Regions from separate parts of the Homo sapiens genome. Here region 1 is linked to region 2. Evidence: promoter capture Hi-C in 16 types of primary human blood cells and fetal thymus (Javierre and others, 2016). All regions are on one chromosome and are shown on one strand. Each heading gives the region's core, a stretch centred on a gene start or on the middle of the fragment in contact. The rest is flanking DNA. Distances are from core to core; before and after follow the strand shown. Region 1 overlaps PPP1R12C (protein phosphatase 1 regulatory subunit 12C). Region 2 holds the start of ZNF580 (zinc finger protein 580).

What was found. The method cuts DNA at HindIII sites, captures the fragments that hold promoters and counts their contacts. A CHiCAGO score of 5 or more calls a contact.
Region 1: a fragment that was not itself captured here is called in contact with the fragment with the promoter of ZNF580 in region 2 in 3 of 17 cell types (total CD8 T cells, total CD4 T cells and activated CD4 T cells); the score reaches 9.0 in total CD8 T cells.

The regions. Positions count from the first base shown.
Region 1 is chr19:55,107,564-55,112,879 of GRCh38, forward strand. It overlaps PPP1R12C (protein phosphatase 1 regulatory subunit 12C), which reads right to left. Exons shown (of 22, transcript NM_017607.4): 2 at 5,102-5,232; 3 at 4,904-5,022. Among named protein-coding and RNA genes, the nearest start is that of PPP1R12C, 7.4 kb to the right of the region's middle. The HindIII fragment of the contact is 402 bases long and covers 3,866-4,267 here.
Region 2 is chr19:55,637,177-55,642,563 of GRCh38, forward strand. It overlaps ZNF580 (zinc finger protein 580), which reads left to right and starts at 3,826. Exons shown (of 2, transcript NM_207115.2): 1 at 3,826-4,007; 2 at 5,321-5,387. The coding sequence starts at 5,333. It overlaps LOC107983998 (a long non-coding RNA gene), which reads left to right. Exons shown (of 2, transcript NR_171683.1): 2 at 2,950-3,623. It also overlaps a transcript of ZNF581 not described here. RefSeq lists silencers at 3,676-4,195, 5,386-5,387, 5,387. The HindIII fragment of the contact is 9,119 bases long and covers 972-5,387 here.

The sequences.
Region 1 (5,316 bases), core at 2,817-5,316, 530 kb before region 2:
AAGCTGGAAACCATCACTCAGCAAACTATCGCAAGGACAGAAAACCAAACACTGCATGTTGTCACTCATAGGTGGGAAATGAACAATGAGAACACTTGGACACAGGAAGGGGAACATCACACACTGGGGCCTGTCGTGGGGTGGGGGGAGGGACAGCATTAGGAGATATACCTAATGTAAATGACGAGTTAATGGGTGCAGCACACCAACATGGCACATGTATACATATGTAACAAACCTGCATGTTGTACACATGTACCATAGAACTTAAAGTATAAATTAAAAAAATAAAAAATAAAAATAAAAATAAAGAAACTCCATCTCAGAGTGAAAAAAATGTGGTAAAATACACACAGTATAAAATTTACCATCTTTTTTTTTTTTTTTTGAGATGCTGAGTCTTGCTCTGTTGCCCAGGCTGGAGTGCAGTGGTGAGATCTCGGCTCACTGCAACCTCCATCTCCTGGGTTCAAGCAATTCTCCTGCCTCAGCCTCCCGAGTAGCTGGGACTATAGGTGTACATCGCTATGCCCGGCTAACTTTTATATTTTCAGCAGAGACGGGGTTTCACCATGTTGGCCAGGCTGGTCTCAAACTCCTGACCTCAGGTGATCTGCCCACCTCGGCCTCCCAAAGTGCTGGATTACAGGCCTGAGCCACCGCGCCCAGCCTAAAATTTACCATTTTAACCCCAATTCAGTGGCATTAAGTAGTCACAATTGGTTGTTGTGCAACCAATCTCCAGAATTTTTTCATCTTGCAAAATTAAAATCGTGTACCCTAGGTCAGGGACAATGGCTCACACCTGCAATCCCAGCACTTTAGGAGGCCAAGGTGGGTGGATCACTTGAGCTCAAGAGTTCCAGACTAGCTTGGGCAACGTGGTGAAACCCCGTCTCCACAAAAAATATAAAAATCATTTTAAAAAATGTGTACCCACTAAACTACTTCCTATTCTCCCCACTCCTCCCAGTCCCTGACTACAGCCATTCTACTGTCTGTCTCCATTATTTTGACTATTCTGGGTACCTCACAGACGTGGAATCAGACAGTAATTGTCCTTCTGTGACTGGCTTATTTTCACTTTTCACTTAGCATAATGTCCTCAAGATACATCTACATTGTGTGTTTTTTGTTTTGTCTTGTTTTGTTTTTTGTTTTGAGACACAGTTTCCTCTTGTTGCTCAGGCTAGAGTGCAGTGGCACGATCTTGGCTCACCACAACCTCCACCTCCCAGGTTCGAGTGATTCTCCCGCCTCAGCCTCCTGAGCAGCTGAGGTTACAGGGATGTGCCACCACCCCTGGCTAATTTTGTATTTTTAGTAGAGACAGAGTTTCTCCATGTTGGTCAGGTTGGCCTCAAACTCCCGACCTCAGGTGATCCGCCCGCCTCGGCCTCCCTAAGTGCTGGGATGAAGACTGAATCATGTCCCACCGCATGGATGGGCCACATGTTGATTTTCCATTCATTCGATGATGGGCACTAGGTTGCTCCTACCTCTGGGCTATTGTGAACGATGCTATGAACACGGGTATATAAATTGCCTTTTTTGTTTTGGTTTATTTGGTTGAGACAGGGTCTTGCCCCCAGGCTGGAGTGACCGTGGTTCACTGCATCTTCCACCTCCCAGGCTCAAGCAATCTTCTCACCTCAGCCTACTGAGTAGCTGGGAGCGTACGTGCATTCCCACGCCTGGCTAATGTGTTTTGTTTTATAGAGATGGGTTCTCACTAGGTTTCCCAGGCTGGTCTCAAACTCCTGGGCTCAAGAGATCCTCCCATCTTGGCCTCCCAAAGTGCTGGGCTTACAGGTCTGAGCCACTGTGCCAGGCCTCAAATGGCCTTTTCCGGCCTGAGCCAGGAGGAACGGGTTTTGGTTCTTGCAAAGAGTCATGCCCGATTCAGCCCCTGAGTCGACTGGGCCAGAGGACTTTGCGGTGTTGGAGGGAGCGGTGGCTCCAGGCCACGAGGTGACTGGCTGAGCAGATCACGTGCTCTCACTGAACCCCAGACCCAGAGAGAGGAAAACAGCAAGTAAGCCAGGGAAAGCGAAGGGGATGGTCGTGCCTGAGGCCGGTCTGTCTTCTCTCCCAGCCCTGCCTGTGAGTGGCTGCCAGGGCCACACTATGGCCAGAGCCAGTCTGGATGCCAGCACCTCGGGGAATTCTGCATCATGTGGGCGTGTCCTGCAGGGGGTGCAAAAGACCCGCCCTCCTTAGAGCTGGGGTGCAGCCTGTGATCCAGGTCCTGCGCACTGCAGCCCCTCTGAGGCTCCTGTGTGGAGCCGGGTGTCACAGGGTGTCACAGGCAGTCGCCTTGTGATTTGGGGCCGCAGAGTCCCACCCCGAGCAGCACGGCTGAGGGTCTTTCCAGTGGCCCCAGTGGTCTTCGTTCCTGGCTGATCCTACAAGCCAATATCCCCCACCAATGTATCCCTCCCAGCCTTCTCCTCACCCCACGGGAGGGAAGAAGCATGGCCCCCTCTGAGAAGCTGATGCAAGTTATGAGCAATTTCTGCAGGAAAATACAACGTCAGAAAGTTCACAGACCCCCTGGAGGCCATTCCCGGCCTCCCTGGGGTCCAAGGGAAAAGGAGGACTGATCCAGACAGAGGGAGCCTAAATCACCCAGATCTGGATCCCTAGCTGGGCCCTGAACCAGAGCGGGAGAGGCTACAAAGAATGTCAAGGAGAAACGCAGGCAACAGTGTAGCATCAAGGTTGGTGCAGTGGGTGAGAGTGTAGCATCAAGGTTGGTGCGGTGGGTGAGAGTGTAGCATCAAGGTTGGTGCGGTGGGTGAGAGTGTAGCATCAAGGTTGGTGCGGTGGGTGAGAGTGTAGCATCAAGGTTGGTGCGGTGGGTGAGAGTGTAGCATCAAGGTTGGTGCGGTGGGTGAGAGTGTAGCATCAAGGTCAACACAGGGGGTAGCGTGTTGCATCCCTACTGTGGTTCTGCAGGAGGTTTTCCTTGTGGCAGGAGATACCTGCTGTGCATCAGGCGAAGATGTACAATGCCTGCAACACAGTCTCAGAATGGCCGGGCTCACGCCTGTAATCCCAACACTTTGCGAGGCCGAGGCCAGCAGATCGCCTGAGGTCAGGAGTTGGAGACCAGCCTGGTCAACATGGTGAAACCCCATCTCTATTAAAAATGCAAAATTAGCTGGGCATGCTGGCTCACGCCTGTAATCTCAGCTACCCAGAAGCTGAGGCAGGAGAATCGCTTGAACCCAGGAGGTGGAGGTTGCAGTGAGCCGAAATCATGCCATTGCACTCCAGCCTGGGCAAAAAGTGAAACTCTGTTTCAAAAAAAAAAAAAAGGCTCAGGAATGGAAAGGCAGGGGTGGGGTGGTAAGAAAGGAAGGGAGAGATGGAGGGAAAAAAACAGGAGGAGAAAGGATAGGAAAAAATGTGTTTATGTCTATACCTGGGAAGAGATCGCAAGGGAGGGACAGAGAGAAGGAACACAAATCTATCAAAAAGTTAAAAGCTGATGATTCTATACTGTATGATTCCCTTTATGTGAAGTGTACAAAACAGCAAATCCACAGACAGAAGGCAGAGAGGGCTTCGTGGGGTGGGGGGGAGGGGGGGGTGCATGGTTGGGGGTGATGGCTAAGCGGTTGCAGGGTTTCGTTGGGGGATGATGAAAATGTTCTACAACCAATGTGGTCATAAATGCCCGACCCCGTGAATAGACTAAAAAGCACTGAAGTGTGCACTTTGGGTGAATTGTAGGGTAGGTGAATTACATCTCAAAAAGCTGTCTAAAAAACAAAAACAAAAAAGAAAAAGCACTGGCGAATCTTAGTGAAAGTCATATGGGTAGTCACATGCTATTGCTTCAACTTTTCTGTAAATCTGAAGCTTTCCCAAAATAAAAAGTTGGAGGAGGAAGGAGACAGAATCCAGGTCCAGGGCTGATTTGACCCACTCCCCATTTCAACCAAAGAGGGGCTCCCGAACCTCAGATCTCCGCCGTCACGTGTCCCACTAGCTAGTCCTCCCGCATGGCTCTCGTGGACCCCTGAACCCACGCGGAATCCTATCCTTTCAGCCTGGCCAGCGGCCCCGTCAGGACAGCCGCGTCAGAAGTCTCGGAGGCTGCCGGTATCTCATTTCCTCGTCAGTCTCCCTTTCCTTCCACACGGTCCCCTGGAGTCTGCCGGGAACCATGCTCACACCCTTCCACTCCAACCCAGCCAGACCCTGACAACCACCCCATGAAGCGGCACCAGTGGTCCTGTTTTAGGAAATCAGGGAAGCAAGCTTCAGGGACGTGCCTGGAGTCACCAGTCACAGGCAGAGCTGGGAGGCAAGCCCAGGACTTTAGAAGACATGCTGGGGACCCAGGGATCCTGTGTGGCCATCACACACCTGCTAGAAGCAACACCCCTTCCCTAGAAAAATGAACCTGGCCAGACACAGTTTCAGGGGCTCCTGGACCCCATATGAAGGCTCCTGGGGTACGATGAGTCTCAGAGGACAGGGAGACCAGTCCCTGGCAACCCCTGCATGCCCCTACTCCCCCCCAAGTAAACGCATCCCCTCCCAGAAAGACCTGCGGCAGGGTTCCAGCAATCCTACCTAACGCACTCCTGGGTGAGTCCCTCCACCCACCCACCCCGCCCCGGCATTCCAATCCCCTCAGTTACTCAGGGGGATTGACAGTCCCAGTTGGTAGGGGTTTGAGTTCTCATCCTGTGCGTGTGCTGGGCTCCAAGCAATCCTGGAGGCAGGCCCCTACACCCCCATTTCACAGGTGAGGAAACTGAGGCACAAAGAAAGACAATCCTAGGAAGCAGGGTCAGCCTCGGTGCCCAGGCCGCCTCTAAAGCTCTCAGCCTGGAGACCACGGGTGAGGAGGTGTCCCCCACCCCACACACAGCACACCAGAGCCCACCTCGGCGGGCGATCTCCGCCTTCAGCAGCCCCTCCATGGCGTCCGACTCGGCCAGGTCCAGGGGCAGGTCCCCGTCACTGTTGACGGCGGCGATGTTGGCCCCGTGGCTCAGGAGGTACCTGGGGGTGGGGGCTGGTCAGGGCTGAGGGTCCAGGCCCCCACCCCGACCAGGTCCTGCCCGGCCCTCCCTTGCCTCACCTGGCGATATCTAGGTAGCCACAGGAGGCGGCCACGTGCAGTGGCGTCCAGCCCTCGTTGTCTGCCTGGTTCACAGTGGCGCCCTGCTCCACCAAGAAGCGCACCACCTCCAGGTTCTCATCAATGCAGGCCTGGGGGTGGGAAACAGCCGTCAGCCGCACCTACCCCAGCCACGGTGTCCCAGCAAGTCGGGACTCCAGAGGGAGCCACGAAAA
Region 2 (5,387 bases), core at 2,576-5,075:
GGAAGGTTTTAAGTCAGGGAATGATTCTGTGAGCTTAAAAAATCACTTGGAAATTGCCATAGGGAAGGGAGGGAGAAGGCCAGGCATGGTGGCTCACGCCTATAATCCCAGGACTTTGGGAGGCTGAGGCAGGCGGATCGCTTGAGGCCAGGAGTTCGAGACCAGTCTGGGCAACAGGGTGAAACCCTGTCTCTTCTAAAATTACAAAAAATTAGCCGGCCATGGTGGTGCGCGCCTGTAATCCCAGCTACTCAGGAGGCTGAGGCGGGAGAATCGCTTGAACCTGGGAGGTGGAGGCTGCAGTGAGCTGAGATCGTGCCACTGTACTCAAGCCTGGGCGACAGAGTGAGACTCTGTCTGAAAAAAGACACAGCAACAAAAAAAACGAGAGGGGAGGGAGAGAGTGATGGAGGCGGAGGCTGCTGCTGCTATAAGCTGGGCGTAAGTGGTGGTGGTTTGCGCTGGGGTGGCAGCGGCGATGGTGGGATTACAGGGAAGTGTGTGGCTTGCTGACAGGGGTCATGTGCACTGACCTGGTGTGGGCAGAGGCAGGTGCTATCCTGGCCATCCCGCCTGCGGATGTGTGACCTCAGGCCAATCACACGATCTCTTTGAGCTCTGCTTCCCTCATCTGTAAAACAGGGATCCTCATGGTGCTTTCCTTGTAGCTCTGCCCTGAGGATGCTGTGCGTTTAGCAATGGCTGTTCCCGAGTGAGGGCTCAATAAATGTTGCTTATTGTTGTCATTATTTCTGGGGATAGCAGTGGGGGTGGGGGTTGTGGCCACTACAGTGCCACTAGTTATATGGTCTGAAACTCAAGAGAGGGATTGTGTTAGTTTCATTGTGTCTCTATGAGTGAATACCTGAGGCTGGGTAATTTATAAACAAAAGAAGCTTAATTGGTTTACGGTTCTGCAGGCTATACAGGACGTGTGGTCCTGGCAGCTGCTTCTGGCGAGGGCTTCAGGAAGCTTACAATCATGGTGAAAGGTAAAGGGGTAGTTGGCATATCTCATGGTGGGGGGAAAAGACTGGCAGGAGGTGACACGCTTTTTTGTTTGTTTGTTTGTTTGTTTGTTTAGATGGAGTCTTGCTCTGTTGCCAGGCTGGAGTGCAGTGGCACAATCTCGGTTCACTGCAACCTCTGCATCCCGGGTTCAAGTGATTCTCCTGCCTCAGCCTCCCAAGTAGCTGGGACTACAGGCGCCTGCCACCACGCCCAGCTAATTTTTGTGTTTTTAGTAGAGACCAGGTTACACCGTGTTGGCCAGGATGGTCTTGATCTTGACCTCGTAATCTGCCCGCCTCGCCCTCCCAAAGTGTTGGGATTACAGGCGTGAGCCACCACGCTCAGCCTGACATGCTCTTTTAAACAACTAGATCTCATGTGAACTCAGCGAGATCTCACTCATTACCTCGAGGATGGCACCAAGCCATTCATGAAGGATCCACCCCCATGATCCAAATGCCTCCCACCAAGCCCCGTCTCCAACACTGGGGATTACATTTCAACATGAGATTTGGAGGAGGCCAGGTGTGGTGGCTCAACCCTGTAATCCCAGCACTTTGGGAGGCTGAGGCAGGTGGATCACCTGAGGTCAGGAGTTGGAGACCAGGTGGCTAATATGGTGAAACCTGTCTCTACCAAAAATATAAAATTGTTATATTTTATATAATACAGCTGGGCGTGGTAGTGCATACCTGTAATCTCAGCTATTTGGGAGGTGGAAACAGGAGAATCACCTGAGCCCGGGAGTTGGAGGTTGCAGTGAGCCTAGAATTGCGCCACTGCACTTTAGCCTGGGCAACAGAGCAAGACTCCATCTCCAAAAAAAAAAAAAAAAAAGAAAAAAAAAAGATTTGGAGGGGACAGACATCTTAACTATATCAGGGATCTTGGCAAGACACTCAGGTTGGATAATTGTCTAAGTAGACCAGGGGTTCTCAGCTAGGAGCCATGTTGCCTCCTAGAGGACACGGGCAATGTGTAGAGACATTTTGGGTTGTCACAACTTGGGGTTGGGGGAGGGTGCTACTGCCATCTGGTGGGTGGAGGCCAAGGATGCTGCTCAACACTCTACAGTGCACAGGATGGGCCCCCACAACAAAGAGTGGTCCGGCTCAAAATGTGTGGTGGCCCACGCCTGTAGTCCCAGCTGTTTGGGAGACTGAAGTGGAAGGATCACTTGTGCCTGGGAGGGTGAGGCTGCAGTGAGCCAGAAGCATGCCACTGCACTCCAGCGTGGGCGACAGAGTGAGACTCTGTCTCAAAAAATATACATACTGCCCAGTAAAATGTTTAAAAAGTACCTTGTGTCCCAAACCAAATATAACTGTGAGGCCTTTTGGGCCCTTGGGCCTCCAGTTTACAACTGGTTGACAGTGGTCTCTGGAATTGTTCCATAAGGTAGGAGCCATATGTGGCTTAAATTTTGATTATGGGAAATTAGTATTTTTTGAGACAGTCTCCCTCTGTTGCCCAGGCTGCAGTATAGTGGCACGATCTTGGCACACTGCAACCTCCACCTCCTGGGTTCAAGCGATTCTCCTGCCTCAGCCTCCCAAGTAGCTGGGACTGTAGGGGAGCACCACTACGGCCGGCTAATTTTTGTACTTTTAGTAGAGAAGGAGTTTCACCATGTTGGCCAGGCTGGTCTCGAACTCCTGACCTCAGGTGATCCGCCCGCCTTGGCCTCCGAAAGTGCTGGGGTTACAGGTGTGAGCCACCGTGCTGATTATGGGAAATGTAATACAATTTAAAATTCAGGTCCTCTGATACACCAGCCACATTTCAAGAGTGTAAGAGTCCCACGTGGCTAGTGACTGTCATAGAACTTTCCACCATTGCAGAAAGTTCTGATGGACAGTGCTCTAGGATGTAGCTGTGGCACCCCAGGGTCTTGGGGCTCGCTGTGACAGTTACTCCTCTTCTGTCCCCCACTCTCAGCTGCACCTGCAGATGCTGCTGCTGCCGCCCTCCTGCGAGGCCGTGGCGCCACGTGGCTGGAGGAGGAGCTGCAGCTGCCCCGAGTGCTGCCGCGTGTGCAGCTCTCCAGTGCGGCTGCAGCGCCACCGCGCGTTGCTTTCGACGCCGGAGTCCTTCGCATGCGCAGCCAGCGCCCGGGCCTCAAGTGCCCCAGGACCTGGCGCAGCCCGCGAGCCCGCATCAGGCTTCCAGTGGGCCCCGTGGGCAGTGCCAGCCTTTCCCACCTCCGCATCTGGCAAAGCCTGGCCTTCGCTGCGCTTCGGTGTCGCCACATGCCTTCTGGAAATATCACACCTCCCCACCTGCGCATGCAGCCGTCTGGCCCTCTGTGGGCCTCGGTTCCCGCATGTGCCCCGTGGAAAGAACATACCTTCCCCAACTATCTGGCAGCGTCTGGCCTTCTCCGGGCCTCGGCCTCCCCATTTGCTGGGTGGAGAATCACGGCCCGGCCACATCGGAGCCAATGGCTGGTCTCTGGACCTCGGTCTCCACATTTGCTCAGCCGGCAGGAACATCCCTTCTCCCGCCCTCTACCTCGGTGGGTGGCCACGGCCGAGCAGGCAGCGACGGCCCAGTGGAAAGAGGACAAACCCTTGTGGGCCTTAGGGCGAAGACGTAACTTTGCTTAGTCTCGGTTTATTGGCCGATCTCTTGTCAAGCGGCGGAATCGTTCCGTTCGGGAGGTGGGAGGGGAGCGGGGCCGCCGGGGGCGGGCGTCTTCAGTGGACCCCACGCCTCCGGTCCCCTCCCCGCAGGGCGCTCCGCAGAGGCGAGGGGTGGGAGCGCCGGCTCCAGGCGGCGGAACCTCCGCACTGGGCTCGCGCGCTTCCGGCCGGCGCCTTTTCCCAGGGACTCCGCCAACCCCTCGCACCCCCGCGCCCCCAGTCCCCGCGTCCCCGGCGCCGCCGGCCCGGAGCTGCCCGGAAGTCTCGGTTCCGCCGCCGGCGCTCGCCAGGGGAAGCCCGGGGCCGCCCGGGACCTCGGCCCGTTCCTCCGGACCCGAGAGGCCGCCGCACGGGGTACGGGGGCCGGGATGGAGGGAGGAGCCTGGCCCTGGGACGACGCCGGGGCCAGGCAGGCTGGGGGAGTGCGCTGGAGCCACCCGGGATGGGGGTGGGGGTCGGGAGCGGCAGGATCGGGCGGAGGGACGGGAGGGGAAGTCGAGGCGCCAGGGCTCCTTGGGGAAGTGAAGGCAATAGGAGGGGCCCCAGGGCCAGGGGACAGGCGGTGTGTAGCGGGATGGGGGCGAAAACGCCCGGGCGCTGGGGTTCCCATAAACAAGGGGAGCAGAGCAAAAGAACGGGCGGGGGACCACGCTGTGTGTAACAGGGAGAGGGATGGGGCTCCTGGAAGAGGTGAACACGAGGAGAAAGAGAGATGCCAGACGTACACAGAAAGGAGGGGAAAGTGGGCTTGGGAGAGGTGCTGTGGGAAGCGGAGTCCCGGAGCCTGGTGTGCATAACGGGGTTTGGGAGAAGGCCCCTGATGGGTACAGAAAGAAGTAACGATGTCACCGCCATATATGGGGGGCGAGAGAAAAGGGGGCCTTTGGGGAGAATGTAGCAGGTAGCCAGGTTGGGGGGGCGGGGTATACAGAAGGAAGGCATTTGAGCCATTTTGGGGTGTATAGATGTAGTAAGACGATGGGTTCCGTAGTGGGGAGAGGTGACTAGACTTCGAGGTGCTAAGTGTAGGAACAGGATGGAAAAGCCCTAGTGAAATGTGGGGAATTGGGTTAGTGGGGCTCTGGGGAGGTACCTAGAGAGGAAGTGAGGGAGGCCACGGAATATGAAGATGGGGAGGCCCTGCGGCATGTAGTGGGGACGGAGGGCCAGGAGGCCGATACGGGGGCCGGTGGGGGGGTAGGGGGCGGCAAAGGGAGGGGAAGTAAACTGAACTGGGGCTGGGCAACAGGAAAAAAGAAGAAACCACAGATTAGAGAAATCTCGGCGGTCAGGAGGCCCGGGGTCTAAGATGTAAAGAGGTAAACAGATTTAGGGATTGATTGTCTGCTGGGGTGGGTTGAGAGGAGAAAAGGGAAGAAAAGTCGGGGGACTACGTCCTCAGACCTGACCTGAGTGGTGAGAGGTGGACCCAGGAGGAGTGGCAGGTGGTGGCGGGGTTTTGCAGAGCTCAGTTGGAGGCCCTCTCCGAGGCAGCTTGATGGAACGTGGGAGAGCCGGGCTGGAGTCACAGTTTTTATTTTGCTAGGGAGGTAGTCAGTGGCGCACAAAGGGTAACAAGCAGTGATAGTGGGGATGCTTTCCATTTTAGGAAACTTTTCCTAAAAGGAAGTGGCAATTTTAACTAATCTCCCCTCCGCCGCTCCCAGCTGCCGCTCCAGATGCTGCTGCTGCCGCCGCGGCCACCCCACCCTCGGTCCTCCTCTCCGGAGGCCA